Linked DNA regions of Homo sapiens: region 2 is linked to region 1. Evidence: promoter capture Hi-C in 16 types of primary human blood cells and fetal thymus (Javierre and others, 2016). All regions are on one chromosome and are shown on one strand. Each heading gives the region's core, a stretch centred on a gene start or on the middle of the fragment in contact. The rest is flanking DNA. Distances are from core to core; before and after follow the strand shown.

Region 1 (3,358 bases), core at 362-2,861:
CAAAATGGAGTCAAATGCCAAAGAACCTTTTCCAGAAAATCTGGAGACCTATTAAAGAAAAAGGCTAAACTCATTATCTCCCTCACATATATTTCAGACATTTACACAGACTAACTGTTCCTGTCCTCTCACGTTTCTGTAAACCCCTTTAAAGACTGAATCTCATTCGTATAGTAAATATTCCCTCATGATTTTTAAGCCGAGTGCAAGAGAAAATTTTCCACCAGTTGGTAACTTCACTAAGGTTCTGGGGACAGTGTTATCACAAGCACCTTCCTTGCAACACGTTTTGTAATTTTACTGATAAAAGTTCTGAAAATATTTCTGTATATTTTACAAGAGTCGTTCAGAAGTTTGTCTCTGACCATCTTAGCAACCTGCCTACTGGCAGAGCAATTTTAAAGCCACTTTACGAAAATGTGGCTTAAGAAATGCTCCGACAACAGTTATTAAGTGCCAATTCGGTGTAATGGAAACTCCAGGTCTTCTAATTTCCAAATACGAAACTCCACCCACTGTCCTCAAACGACAGTTCTCAATCGTAGGTGCACATCAAAATCACTTTTGGAAACTTTCAAAAAACAGCAATACTCACCCTGCACTAGGACAGGTTTTGATGTAATTGGTCGGAGGTTGGGCTCTGGTGTATTTTTAGTAAGATCTTCAAATAAGCTAACTGTGCACCCAAAGTTAAGATCACTGCCCTCAAAAATCCCCAAAAGGGTCAGTTAAACCTCTGGCTCCCGGAGCTTAGGAGGAGGAAAAGGACCTCTGTTCAAGGCTACCTTCTCTGCCCTTGCAGCCCAATCATGACCTAGAACAGAGGCCAGCAAACTTCCCTGCAAAGTGTCACACAAACGGTCTCTGTTGCGTATTTTTGTTTTCCAAAGCCTTTTAAAAATATAAAAACCATTCCTAGCCTTAGAGCTGTACAAAAGCGAAGACTCCCTGACCTAGAGCGCTGAAGCCGGAAAGCGGAGAGGGATGCGAAGACACCAGGCGGGCCCAGGCGCAGTCGCCATCCCCGGGCTGGGCCTGGCACTGCGCCACTCGGTGTCCGCGGGACCCTCAGGAACGAGAACACGGCCAAGCAAGGGACGAGCACAGCCGCTCCAGGCACCACGACAGACCCGCGGCGGCGGCCCAAGGACCACAGAGGGCAGCACGCCCGCCCCCGCCCCTCCCCGGCCCGCGGCAATCCCTCCCCGCGCTCCCGCCACGCGCAGGCCCAGCCCCGCGGCGGCCTCGGTCCCACGCCCCGCGCCCGGGCCCGCCCGGTGACTCAGCACTTGGGCACCGCACCGCTGGGGGCGAAGGCACCGACCGGGCGGCACGGGCCGGGACCGGGCGCTGGACCAGGGCGGCCCCGAGGCCTGGCGGGCGACCCGCTCCTAGCAAAGGTGCGCGGGGGGACGAGCGGGTGGGAGCGGCCTCGCAAACAAGCCTCCGTCCCAGCCCTTGCCTTCTGCTCGAAATTGATGATGCCCTGCACTGGGCCGTCGCCCTTCAGCACGCACACGGCCTTCGTCGCCATAACTCGCTAGGCCACGCCGAGGTCCTGGTTCCGAGGACTGCAACGGAAACCCCAGACGCTGCAGGAGACTACGACGCAAACCAGCACCCCGTCTCCGCGACTACTTTATAGGCCAGACCTCCGCGCCTCGCCCACTCTGGCCCCAAACCAATCGCCTCGCACGCGCTCAGCCCGCCCCCTGCGGCAGCCTCGGGTCGCGAGTGGCCGGGAATGACTGGGGGCGGGGCCAAGGGGCCGCGTGCGCCGGAGACTCCCCCCGCCCCGCAGCCGGGAAACGTCCAGAACCCCGAAATGTGGAGAAAACAACCTTCTTTTCACGGGGGCGTGGCCCGCCGGTTGCAGTACGCGAAATTGGCAAAATGATGTAAACAGGGTACGCTTTGAAAATCTGAAGTCACTTTGTCTAGAAATGTCATTAGTTATGACTGAGTTTGGCCACAGCGTCTCATTTGTTACTCAGCAATTGGGACGCCCCAAGATGGATGCTTTTGTAGTTTTCATTTTTTTGTCTTGTTTTTTAGTTTTCTGAGGGTATAGAAAGTCGCTACACCTCAATCCCGGGACTTACCTTTTCTTCCCCTGCAATTTTCTTAGTCCTTAGTATAGAGTTTCTTATTTGGTTGGCAGAATTCGGTATTCTTTTTATATTTTTCCTGTTTGGCAAGGCCACAACCCTACAGATAACCAAACGGCAACTAGTTGGCTTCTAGGCATCACCTGCGTTTTTGTCTGGCCTAAAGGCCACAACACTCAAGGAGGGTAGAATGGTGAAATAATTTATGATGCCTCCATACAACAGGAATGATAAATATGACTTACCTTTCAAGGGAAATATTTCAAAAACATATTGTGAAATGAGAAAATAGTGCAAACTACTTTTGTCCGGGGCGAGGGGGTTGTTTGTTTGATTTTTGAGACAGGGTCTCGCTCTGTCACCCAGGCTGGAGTGCAGTGGCGCCATCATAGCTCACTGCAGCCTCCACCTCCTGGGTTCAAGCCATCCTCCTGCCTCAGCCTCCCAAGTACCTGGGACCACAGGCATGTGCCACCACACCTGGCTGATTTTTGTATTTTGGGTACAGATGGGGTTTTACCATGTTGCCCAGGCTGGTTTCAAACTCCTGAGCTCAAGCCAGCCATCTACCCACCTCGGCCTCCCAAAGTGCTGGGATTACAGACATGAGCCACCACGTCCAGCCTAGTACTTAATATTGAGTATGGCAAAATACTGAGACTTAATTGAAGTCCAGTGTGAAACAACAATAGAAGCTATTCCAGCCTCGTTTGGAGTACACTACTATCGATTTATTTACTTATTTATTATTTACGCTATTTAGACCCTCAGACTCTAATGCATCCTCTATCAGAGAAATACAATTCACATTTTTTTATCATCCTCTAGGAAGTATACATATTTGCAGTTTTGCCTGTTGTATTTGGTAGTAGTCTCCAGATAATTCGTATATTCTAAACGGTTGCATAAACAGTGCAAATGCTGGCCAAAGGGCCTTTGCCCAAGGCTAAAGTTTCTTTGGGTTCCAGGAAGTTCGGCAGATTTCAGTTCATTGTAAACTTGCCAAGGGATCCGCCCACAGACACGAGAGAGCTGCTTTGGGACAGTGAATTACTCTTCTTTTGAGACGGTCTAATGATGCCTGGGTGGTGCCTTCGTAGGATGGTCGTCACACCTGAACAAGGGGGTCCCTGGCCCCAGGCCCCATGCTTTACTGGGCCCTGTTCTGTCCCTCTTCTGGCATCATCTCCCATGGAGAAAAGAATGTGTTGAAGCCAAGAAGATGCTCCCCCCGCAAGAATATCATCTCT
Region 2 (3,431 bases), core at 872-3,371, 450 kb after region 1:
GTATTCAAAATTATATTAGTGAATGCTTCACCTTTGGGAAGAGAGGAACTCTTCTAAGTAGCATCTTTCAATGTGTGTGTTTGATAGATTTCTAATGCATGTATCACATGCTCATTGCAAACCTTTTAGAAAATCTAGGTGAAGAACACAACAGAAAATTAAGGCCACTCTTATTCACGAAATCCAGAAATAACCATTGCAAACATTTTGGCGTTTGACCATTCATTCCTTTTTCCGCACACATACAGATACATGTGTTCAATGGCATCATATTATGGGTACTGTTCTGTCACCTGCTCTTTAATCAGTAACCGATACACTATGGGCATCTTTAGAATTGGGGAAAATGGAAGGAAATATAAGTTTGACCTCCATTGATGGGAAATTCTTCTTTTGTGAACACAGAATTAGCCTTTTTAGAAACATGACAAATGATTGAGCTCCTTTTCTCTTTCACCTTAAACCATGGAAGAAATGCCTTGATCTTTTTCAAAGTGAACCTGGTTTCATTTTTCCCCGTGAAGGGCAGCCAGGTGAATGGTCTTGAGTGAGGGGAGAGAGAGGAAAGAAGAACTTTACTTGCATGCTTGTTTTTATTTTTACATAATGAATAGCATTAATAGTTCTATGTCGTAGTCGTATCAGGTCTGAGCCTGAGAAAGAGCTGAGACTTTGCCATTGTACACATGGAGGAAGTGAAGCTCAGAGGGCCTTAGCTGCTTGCCTGAACTCACATCACAGTCAGTTGCAAAGGAGAGACTGAACCCACGTCTGGCTTCTCTACAGCTGGGTGCATCCTGCAGTGCCGAGTGTCCACAAGAACTCTCAGAACCTGGGTTAGTCTTCAGGAAGGACAATCAGTAAGGCTCAGAAGAATCTAGAATATATTCTTAGGGGAGTGAATTGGTCTTCTTTGGGGCTGCTAAAAAAAAAAATGAAAAACTTTTCTATCACAATTTTATCCTAGAAGAAGTTGGATGGATGAAATGACGTTTTAAAGATCTCATCATTCAACACAATGTTTGTAAATACTGAATGACTTTCACTACCTCCGCAAGTACCTCAATTTTGTAGTTCTACTATCAGCAATTTTTGTATTTTCAAAAAAGCAAATCACAGACGGCTTTTTAAAGAAAAAACATGGCTCTTCATATGAATCAGAGAAATGGACAGTTCAGCTCAAATTAGCCTCTTAAAATGTCTTATGTATGTGGAGGAAAAATAGAAGAATCACTTGTTTTGGGCCATAACTAAAGTCAGCCCTGACATGGATGCTAAAAATAAATGGTATCACCTCTCTGTGTGCTTTGAATCCTTCATGTACGAGGGTTCTAGCTTTTGGAGATAATGGTATCTCAGTTCACAATTTTTTCATGTTAATTACTTAACAAAATTGGTCTGTAGAGGATTTCTGCATTCCTTTATTTATAATTAGCACAATTCTTTAGAGACCCATTAACATTCTGCAGAGCTGAAGAGTTATTGTCAGATCTGCAGATGAAGGTGTTAAAAGTAGAACTTTCTGGCTTTTTTGTATAAGCCGAACTCTGGAAGGTGTTTCCAGAAGAATAACATGGCTTTGGAGCATCCTGTGCACATTGGCTTTAAACTGGATCAGGAATCGAAGGTTAAGCCAAAGTTTTCCGATTACCATTGATTGGTGGAAGATTGATCAGTGAGTGAAGCAATGAATGATTGGCCCACTTTACGTATGTTTCAAGCTTTTGCTTTGGAAGAAACTAGGGGAATGAAGAATAGTATTGTCATTGACAGTTAGAGACCATATCTAGATAATGTAGTGGACCTGATCCCCTTTAAAGTGTTTATTTCTGTCACCTGAAAGGTTTCTGATGGCATCATTAAGGTACAAAATCCCTTTCTCCAACAGTAAAAGTTAGTCCTGTCCAATTTTCCCTGGGCCTTCAGGTCTTTTTCCCAAGACATAGAAATAAAAGCAAAAACAACGTGATGTGGAACAAGCTTCTATCTCATGAGTTTATGCCGGGCACGGTGGCTCACACCTGTAATCCCAGTACTTTGGGAGGCTGAGGAGGGCAGATCACTTGAGGCCAGGAGTTCGAGAGCAGCCTGGCCAACATGGCAAAACCCCATCTGTACTAAAAATACACACACATAAAAAATCTCATGAGTTTAAAACTGGAAGACTTGTGTGTGCATTTCAGAAATTGATGGTCTTTGGAAAAGCACCCATGTAGGAAAAGTGATATAGTATGCTCAGGGCCAGGTGCCTTCTAAAGCTTGTTTCTTCCTTGGAAAACACCTTATTGTAATTAGTGGATCTGATTTTATTCTTAAGAGGGAAGGAGATAATGGGGAAAACAGTGTCCCATGTTATTAACAATCTGATATAATGGCGAATGGTTTTTTTTTCCTCATTGAAAACAAACATGATTGTAAAAATGCCTGTCTTTTGTTTCATTATTGTTATTCTCAATGTTTGGTGATAGATGCTTTCTCTAATATTTAATAATCAATCTGTTTCTTCTGTCTCTTGCATTCAGCTCATTCTCTTTCCTATTCTATCTGATCCACATCATTTCACATCAGTTTGCCATCTGCCATCTGAGCACCAGTCAAGTTCTGGTATAGTAAATGTTTCAAGATCTTCATTTCATATACAATTCATGTCACAGATGTTACTGGAATGATTGTTGCTAAATATAGCAGGTAACCATGTTGCCCTGTAGGTTTTGGATATATTCTGATCGTTACAACTACAAAAATAATTGCAACATATTTTCATTCATTTATACCTACTGATATTATTCACATGTGACCATGTGTCAGTTTTATTTCATGCTTTTACTACGTCATTCTGTGGCTTTGGATATGCTATAACCATTGGCGTTTAGAGAAAGAAAAGGTTACTTTGAAGGGGAGGGAAAATATCTTTAGAAATTCTACAATAGCACTTTGTGTGTGTGTGTGTGTATACATATTTCTGTATGCAGTGACTACATGTTTGCATTTGTGTATGCAGTAATTGCATGTTTGTATGTCTTCTAGAAGTTTGACTGAAATGGAAGAATATGAAGAAAAATAGCAAAACATAATGGATTAGGAGCTCTAAGGCAGTAAATTCTGAGACATGTTATCTATTTTAATTGGTGCAAACTATTTACTGAAAATATCTACATTGTGTTTTGCTGTTTCATCCTTTGAAATAGTCATAGTAAGATGCGAATTTAAAAAATTATGCCAACTAAACTAAAAATTGTTGTACCATAATACTTAGGGTATAATTTGCGGCTGCATTGCCTCAAAATGCATCAAATGCTAAGTAACTTAAGTACATGTACATTGGAAAACAAATTTATACCATTTAAATTTTTTCCTAACTGAATTTTCCTTGAATGTTTTACGAGTCTCAATTTTCTTTTGAGTTTTCACTTGAATGTTTTATGTCTAAA

The links. The method cuts DNA at HindIII sites, captures the fragments that hold promoters and counts their contacts. A CHiCAGO score of 5 or more calls a contact.
Region 2: a contact is called between a fragment that was not itself captured here and the fragment with the promoter of SOD1 in region 1, in 1 of 17 cell types (fetal thymus). The highest score is 5.0, in fetal thymus.

What each region holds. Positions count from the first base shown.
Region 1 is chr21:31,657,946-31,661,303 of GRCh38, reverse strand. It overlaps SOD1 (superoxide dismutase 1), which reads right to left and starts at 1,611. Exons shown (of 5, transcript NM_000454.5): 1 at 1,463-1,611. The coding sequence starts at 1,534. SOD1-DT (SOD1 divergent transcript) reads left to right here and starts at 1,280. Exons shown (of 3, transcript NR_187558.1): 1 at 1,280-1,907; 2 at 3,209-3,358. RefSeq lists enhancers at 1-269, 769-968 and silencers at 1,129-1,408, 1,679-1,998. The HindIII fragment of the contact is 11,893 bases long and covers 1-3,358 here.
Region 2 is chr21:31,206,458-31,209,888 of GRCh38, reverse strand. The region is part of intron 11 of TIAM1 (TIAM Rac1 associated GEF 1); the gene reads left to right. Among named protein-coding and RNA genes, the nearest start is that of TIAM1, 140 kb to the left of the region's middle. The HindIII fragment of the contact is 278 bases long and covers 1,983-2,260 here.